2 separate regions of the Homo sapiens genome follow, and region 2 is linked to region 1. The links are contacts of gene promoters, found by promoter capture Hi-C in human tissues and cell types (Jung and others, 2019). All regions are on one chromosome and are shown on one strand. Each heading gives the region's core, a stretch centred on a gene start or on the middle of the fragment in contact. The rest is flanking DNA. Distances are from core to core; before and after follow the strand shown. Region 1 holds the start of NDUFS5 (NADH:ubiquinone oxidoreductase subunit S5). Region 2 overlaps UTP11 (UTP11 small subunit processome component).

Region 1 (4,287 bases), core at 904-3,403:
AAGAGAACTATAACTAAAGAACAATGCATAGAAATCCTTTCTCGGTCAGGAGCGGTGGCTCACCTACCACGTGAGATGGAGTCTCCGTCTGTTACCCAGGCTGCAGCGCATGGTGCAATCTTGGCTCACTGCAACCTCCTCCTCCAGGGTTCAAGCGATTCTCCTGCCTCAGCCTCCCAAGTAGCTGGGACTACAGGTGCGCACCACCACGCCCAGCTAATTTTTGTATTTTTAGTAGAGATGGGGTTTCAGCATGTTGGCGAGGCTGGTCTTGAACTCCTGACCTCAGGTGATCCGCCCGCCTTGGCCTCCCAAAGTGCTGGGATTACAGGTGTGAGCCACTGCACCTGGCCTAAATTTTTTTTTTAAATCAGCCACTTGTGGGCCAGGCGCGGTGGCTCATGCCTGTAATCCCAGAACTTTGGGAGGCCAAGGCGGGTGGATTACCTGAGGTCAGGAGTTCAAGACCAGCCTGGCCAATATGGTGAAATCCCGTCTCTACTAAAAATACAAAAAAATTAGCTGGGCGTGTTGGCACATGCCTGTAATCCCAACTATTCGGGAGGCTGAGACAGGAGAACTGCTTGAACTGGGGAGACAGAGGTTGCAATAAGCCAAGATCCGCCATTGTACTCCAGCCTGGGCGACAGAGCGAGACTCTGTCTCAAAAAAAAAAAAAAAAAAAAAAGAAGAAGAAGAAAAAAAGAATTTGGATCCTTTGGTCAGGTTCTCTGTCTCAAAAAAAAAAAAAAAAAAAAAAAAAGGCACTTGTGGTGGTATGTGCGCCTGTAGTCCCAGCTACTCCTAAGGCTGAGGCAGGAGACTGAGGCCAGGAGTTCAAGGCTTCAGTGAGCTATGACCTGGCCACTGCACTCCATCCTGGGCAACAAAGCGAGATCCTGTCTCAAAAAAAAAAAAAAACCAGAGCGAAAGAAATGGGTTAAGACTTACTTTGTAGACTATTACAGACAGTAGGGAAAAAAATTTACATGCAAATACATAATAATGTTAAATGTAAAAACACACACACAAAAACAAACCCTGACTGCCTAAAATGACTGAAAGGAAGCGCGCGCACACCCACAAATATCAATATAAATGTGTACTCATGGTAGATTTAAAGGTGAATTTAGTTGGGCGCAGTGGCTCACGCCTGTAATTCCAGCACCTTGGGAGGCCGAGGCGGGCGGATCACCTGAGGCCGCGAGTTCAAGACCAGCCTGACCAACATGGCGAAACCCTCTCTCTACTAAAAAAATACAAAATTAGCCGGGCGTGGGGGCGCATGCCTGTAATCCCAGCTACTCGGGAGTCTCAGGGAGGAGAATCGCTTGAATCCGGGAGGCAGAGGCTGCAGTGAGCCGAGATCGCGCCACTCTGCACTCCAGCCTGGGCAACAAGAGCGAAACTCCATCTCAACAAAAAGGTGAATTTAACTTCTTAAGTTCCTTCCCATCCCTCAGTCATCATTTACTGAGTAGTTACGTTCCAGGCACTCAGATGCGGGGGAAAGCAGCTCCAACGTAAGCACCAGAGACACACACTCGGAATTGCGAATACACTGCAAGGAACACGAGTGGGTAAGAGCTCGAAGGAGGAAGCACGAACTCTGCCCGGAGACTTGAAAATGCCTTTAACATGGCTTGCGAGTTCGCCAAGTGAAGATCAGTGGGCAGAGTGTTCCAGTTGGGCAACAGCCCGGAGTTACAGCCGGAAGTGCTGGCTATGTTTGGGGGACAATGGAGCGCAGCGTGCATGACGGTGAAAAGAATGAAATGAGCTCAGGAGGCCGGCGGGGCCGAAATCACGCAGAGCCTGGAAAGCTGGGATAAGGATCGTAGACTTTAGGTTAAGAAACAGAAAGCCAAAACATTAGTCCGGCAAAAACCTAAACAAATGTGGAAAGTGGAGAGAGCGGCAATCTCCAGGCTTCGGTGCCATTAGCTGTGGAGGTGAAGCGGCCTGGGAGGGCAGGGAACACGCCCTGAGTTCAGGTCTGGGAGAAGGGGACACACAGCAAGCCAAGAGGAAATCTGTTAAAGAGACCTCGGAAGGAAGGTCCTTAAGCTAAGCTGCCGCGCGGACATAAGCAGCCCCTACCTACCCGATGCTCGTGCCCTTGACTCTTCTCTGGCCGCCGCTTCAGAACGACTAGCTAGCGACGCGGACGCCTGCCGTAAAGGATGACCTCAGCGAGACGTTTGCAGCGCGACGCCGGAAGCCGACCTTCCCTCAGCCGTCTCCCCACAAAACCATAGAAACCGAGCCCGTTGGCCTGGTACGGTGGCTGACGTCTGCAATCCCAGCACCTTGGAAGGCTGAGGGAGGAAGATCACTTCAGCCCAGGAGTTCGAAAACAGCCTGGGCAACATGGCGAAACTCCCCTCTCTACAAAAAATAAAAAATTAGCCGGGCGAGGTGGTGCATGCCTGTGGTTCCAGCTACTCAGGAGGTTGAGGTGGGAGGATCCCTTGAGCCCAGGAGATTGAGGCTGTAGTGAGCCATGATCACACCATTCCATTGCATTCCAGCCCTGGCAACAGAGCAAGACCTTATCTCAGGGGGAGAGTGAGAGAGAGAGGATGAAGAAGAGAGAGAGGAGGTAGAGAGAGAGAAAGGAAAAAAAACCCAAACCCATCAATTACAGAGACACAGGGAAGGCCTAGCCATTAGTGAGTTCTTGCTCCTTTCTTGCACTCTGCCTAGCATGCTCACGACAACACTGAGTGGTGAGAGACTTCACCAAAGTCACAGGAGAGAAAGAACACTGGCTCCCTGCCTACCCACTAGTGGTTAAGCACATGGACTATGAGCCCAAACCACCACGTGGGGTCAAATGTAGGCCCCCAGCCGGGCGCAGTGGCTCAGGCCTGTAATCCCAGCACTATGGGAGGCCGAGGTGGGCGGATCACAAGCTCAGGAGATCGAGACCATCCTGGCCAATATGGTGAAACCCTGTCTCTACTAAAAATACAAAAATTAGCTGGGTGTGGCAGCGAGTGCCTGTAATCCCAGCTAGTGGGGGGAGGCCGAGGCAGGAGAATCGCTTGAATCCGGGAGGCGGAGGTTGCAGTGAGGTGAGATCGCGCCACTGGACTCCAGCCTGGCGACAGAGCTAGATTCAGTCTCAAAAAAAAAAAAAAAAAAAAAAAAAAAAAAAAAAAAAAGTAGGCCCCCACCAATTTCGTGTGACTCTAGGAAAGTTTCTTAACTTCATTGTGCCTCAGTCTCCTCGTCTGTTAAGATAATTATGGTATTCACAATGGAGGCTTGCTATAGGGATTAACTGATTTATGTATAAAGCACTGAGGCGGTGGCTAGCACATGGGAAACATTCCAAGGCAGTCGCAGTTCTTTGATGTCTCAGCTTTCAGTTTGTGAATCAACTGCTACCATGCCTGTCATCTGTTCCAGAACCTCCAATGACTCCCTTTGACTACATCAGAGACTCTAAAGTGTTGTGTGTATGTCTTTGGGGGGTGGACCACAGGGTGCATGAGATATTATACATTGGAGGTATGGGAGGAAAATACTAGAACATATATATATATATATATATATATATATATATATATATATATATAAATATATATATATATAATTATTACTTTTGAGACAGATTCTCACTCCCATTGCCCCGCTGGAGTGCAGTGGTGCAATCACAGTTCACTGCAGCCTCAACCTCCCTGGGCTCTGGTGATCCTCCCACCTCAGCCTCCCAAATAGCTGGGACCACATGTGCATGCCACCATGTGCCTGGCAGTCTTTATTATAATTATTATTTTATTTGAGATAGGGTCTCACTCCATCACCCAGGCTGGAGTGCAGTAGTGCTATCATAGATCACTGCAGCCTCAAACTCCAGGGCTCAAGCAATCCTCCTGCTTAGCCTCCCAAGTAGCTGGGACTACAGACATGCCACTGTGCCCAGCTAATTCTTTTTTTTTTTTTTTTTTTGAGACAGAGCTTCACTCTGTCACCAGGCTGAAATGCAGTGGTGCAATCTTGGCTCACTGCAACCTCCACCTCCCAGGTTCAAGCGATTCTCCTGCCTCAGCCTCCTGAATAGCTGGGACTACAGGTGTGCGCCACCACTCCCAGCTGATTTTTGTATTTTTTTTTAGTAGAGACGAGGTTTCACCATATTGGCTAGGATGGTCTAGATCTGTTGACTTCGTGATCTGCCCGCCTCAGCCTCCCAAAGTGCTGGGATTACAGGCGTGAACCACTGCGCCCGGCCAAGCTAATTCTTTAAAAAAATTTTTTGTGGAGATCAGTATCTCTTTA
Region 2 (4,042 bases), core at 1,049-3,548, 1.0 Mb after region 1:
CCTCAAGTCTCTAAAACTTTCAGCATTGACTGAGCTCAGCACCTCCCCAGAAGGGAGTGCATACACACAATGGGAAGCATTTCCTTCCTGAAGGCAAAACCTACTGGTTTCTGTTTCCTGACCCTTCTTGCTGTTTTCCAGGGCCCCTGATTTAAATTCCACTGGGTACACCCTGAGGAAACAGGCTTCTAGTCTAGGCTTGTACAGGAAGCTCACAGTCATGGGCACTTATTAAGCATTAACAATTTTCTTTTAAAGCCTTACAATCCACACATGGCTGTTCTCCCTCCTTGGTGTAAGGGCTACGCAAGCCCCCCAGAACCCCGCTCCCTGTTCTCCCATGTTTGCTCTAAGCATGTTCAGTCCTGTCCTTACTGTCCTTGGCCTATAATCCTGATATGGGCAAACAAAGGAAGGAGAGAACCAGAGAAGAGAAAGAAGCTGGCCAACACACCCAGGGGTCCATATTCCCAGAGTGAAGGTCTGCACCAAGCTATTCTAGCCTTGGAATTGTGAGTTGGCATGGAGTGCAGAGGACAGAGACACAGCCAGGCCTATACTGATTTGAGCTTCATCAATAAGGAAGAGGTGCTCCCGTAGGTTCCTTGTTCCAAGAGTTTCTATCTGCAGCTGTTAAGTAAGAGAAAAAAATTCCTCCTTGGATAATTTATGAAGCCACCTGAATAGCCAATAAAAGAAGAATGAGTGAGGGTAAAATCAGTCTATCCACTAGATAAAACACTATGCAATCATTAAAAATAATATTTATTTTAACGTTTACTCTAGCATATATTACTGTAAAAAACTTTTGTGATGTAACAAACTGGGAAAGAGCTAATGATTTAATTAAAAAGTAGGACATCGGCCGGGCGCGGTGGCTCACGCCTGTAATCCCAGCACTTTGGGAGGCCGAGGCGGGTGGATCATGAGGTCAGGAGATCGAGACCATCCTGGCTAACAAGGTGAAACCCCGTCTCTACTAAAAAAATACAAAAAAAAATTAGCCAGGCGCGGTGGCGGGCGCCTGTAGTCCCAGCTACTCGGGAGGCTGAGGCAGGAGAATGGCGTGAACCCGGGAAGCGGAGCTTGCAGTGAGCCGAGATTGCGCCACTGCAGTCCGCAGTCCGGCCTGGGCGACAGAGCGAGACTCCGTCTCAAAAAAAAAAAAAAAAAAAGTAGGACATCAAATTGTTTACTGTAACTATAAAACACAAAAACATGGACAAAAAGTGATGCCTCGTTTTACAAAATGGAGGAAATCAACTAGACTACTCACAGTAATTGTCCACCTCCACAGCTCTAGCTCCTAGCACAGTTAAGCATGCAATAAATATTTGTTATTATTGAATAAGCACTGGGATTAGGAATGAATTAATCTACTTTCCAAATCTGCTGTAATGAGATCCTATGTTTCATAACAAAAAAAATTATGGGCTGGGCATAGTGGCTCATCCCTGTAATCCCAGCCCTTTGGGAGGCCAAGGTGGGAGGATCGCTTGAGGCCACGAGTTCAAAACCAGCCTGGCCAACATGGCAAAACCTGGTCTCTACAGAAAATTTAAACATTACTCAGACATGGTGGCACATGTCTGTGGTCCCAGCTACTCAAGAGGCTGATGCAGGAAGATCACTTGAGCCCAGGAGTTCAAAGTTGCAGTGAGCCATAATCACACACTGCACTTCCAGCCTGGCAACAAAGACCCTATCTCAAAGAAAAAAAAAATTAAGTATATAAAAATAAGACTAATTTCACAATCCAAAAACAATTACAGAAGGGAGGGAGATTTAATGTTGTCCATAGAAAGACATTAAATGTCAGACTGACAATTTAGTTATGGTTACAAACCGGAAAACCATGCCATTTGGAGTAATGGAATTTGAAGTTACTAGAAAACGACAACAGATTTTTGATACAGAATGACAAGGCTTATCTATAACACGTCAACGTTTTCGACGACTCTGAAATTTATAAATAGCTGGGGAGTTCACCGTTTCTTTCTTCACCTTCACTTTCTGAGTTTTATCCTACAAAAGAGTAAAAAGGTGATCAGTAAAGAGAAGGAAATGGTTTTGTAAAATCGAAAGGTTAATAAACTACCTATTAGCACCTGCTTCAGCCCTTCTCAAAGTTGAGAACGGACACAGCCCTACTGCCCAAGGCATCCACTGTAGGCAATGAATTAACTTCTCCCCTAGGCATCTAGAAAGTACTAGCTGTGTACAGTCCTAGGAAAACTGAGAAGAAAGGTGTTCAAGTAGTTGTTTCATTTAAAATTATAATTTTAATTCTCTCACGGAACCCCAGTTGAGAAAGGCTGACCTAAATGATCTACAAAGCTAAAGAATTTGACATTTAGAGGAATGATAAGAATATGAAAGAGGCATCTTATATTCCTCAGCTCTGCTATTTAACTACACAATGTTGTCTATTTTTAAACACCAATGAGTGACATGCACTGTTTTGTTAACCTGTTTAAATGTTACGGGAGCTGCTCATAAGCTATAAAGTTCATATGCTACCCGATCCTACCCTTTGCTGTTCCAAAGCACTGACTAATAACCCCCTTATTACCTCCTTAATCAAGGCGCATTTCAACACTGTCAGAGTAACAGACACTGGCTCAAACCACTGCCCCTGAGGAGCAGACATTTTCACTGGGGTTGATTTACACACAGCTGAAATCTAGTCTGAGTTAAGACCTTTACAAGAAAGAAAAGGGGGAAAAAAAAAAAAAGAGGCCTAAGGCTCTCTCTCCTCACCATAAGATCTTTGCGTGTTTGAATTTTCTGAGCAATAACGAACAATTTCTTCTCTCGTTCAATCCGCTGTGTCAGGCAGTTATACTGCTTTTGCCTTTCTTTAGCTATTCGCTGGAGAAGAAACACACACATTCTCAGTGAACAATGAACAGGACAAAAATGAGTAAGAAACTGTTTCTTAATCCATTTAAGCCAACTGCATAGTTTCATCAACTCCCTTCTTTCACCAGAATCAACATAACGTGGTAACAATAACGTTGCCCATTTTAGGAACATCACATTCTGGAGCTGAAAGGAACCCTGGGCCAGACGCAGTGGCTCACGCCAGTAATCCCAGCACTTTGGGAGGCTGAGGAGGGAGGGTCACTTGAGCCCAGGAGTTCCAGACCAACGTAGGCAACATAATGAGACTCTGTCTCAAAAAAAAAAAATTAAAAATTAAAAAAGGAACCCTGTAGACTATCTTATCGAAACCCGTCATTTACAAACGCAGAAAAATGAGGCCCAGAGAAGAAGTGGTCCAAGGACACACAGCTCACCTGGAGCAGAGTCAGGACCGTCCCCCTCTCACAAATCCCAGGAATCTTTCCACTACTACACTAAGCTGCTTCAACCTTTGTGTGAGTGCCACAGTCACCTGAGATGATGGCAGGAATGAATCAGTGTTGGAAACCCTATACAAAGTGAATGGAGAGCAACAGAAGAGTCGGCAACAGAAGGGTCCCCAGGCAGTGTGCTGGTGCCTGAAAATCTTACCACTCAGAAAGCAGAAGAATTTTTTCAGCAGAAGCTCACCTGAGAATTCTCACTGCTAATGACTCCTCAAAGATCAGTGGGGTCCTTACATTTTGGGGAATCATCAACCTCAGAGAAACTGATGAAAGCTTTGGGATCTTTCTTCTTTTTTTTTTTTTTCTGAGGCGGAGTCTTGCTCTGTCGCCCAGGCTGGAGTGCAGTGGCACTATCTCGGCTCGCTACAACCTCCGCCTCCTGGGTTCAAGCAATTCTGCTGCCTCAGCCTCCCTAGTAGCTGGGATTACAGGTGCCCGCCACCACGCCTGGCTAATTTTTGTATTTTTAGTAGAGACAGGGTTTCACTACATTGGCCAGGCTAGTCTCGAACTCCTGACCTCAAGTGATCCACCTGCCTTGGCCTCCCAAATTGCTGGGACTACAGGCATGAGCCACCACGCCCAGCATGGGATGTTTCTTGAGATAAATGTACATACACATTTGTAAAAGGTTGTGCAAGCACATATACCTATCTGCACAAAATACCAGT

The links. Contacts are between HindIII fragments. The study calls those that stand out against the background at their distance.
Region 2: a fragment that was not itself captured here is called in contact with the fragment with the promoter of NDUFS5 in region 1 in 1 of the 25 tissues and cell types used here (dorsolateral prefrontal cortex).

Annotation. Positions count from the first base shown.
Region 1 is chr1:39,024,216-39,028,502 of GRCh38, reverse strand. It overlaps NDUFS5 (NADH:ubiquinone oxidoreductase subunit S5), which reads right to left and starts at 2,153. Exons shown (of 3, transcript NM_004552.3): 1 at 2,101-2,153. RefSeq lists a silencer at 104-269 and enhancers at 1,040-1,625, 1,626-2,212, 2,072-2,321. The HindIII fragment of the contact is 8,915 bases long and covers 1-4,287 here.
Region 2 is chr1:38,021,528-38,025,569 of GRCh38, reverse strand. UTP11 (UTP11 small subunit processome component) reads right to left here. Exons shown (of 8, transcript NM_016037.4): 7 at 2,761-2,871; 8 at 750-2,025. The coding sequence ends at 1,942. Among named protein-coding and RNA genes, the nearest start is that of UTP11, 11 kb to the right of the region's middle. The HindIII fragment of the contact is 9,293 bases long and covers 1-4,042 here.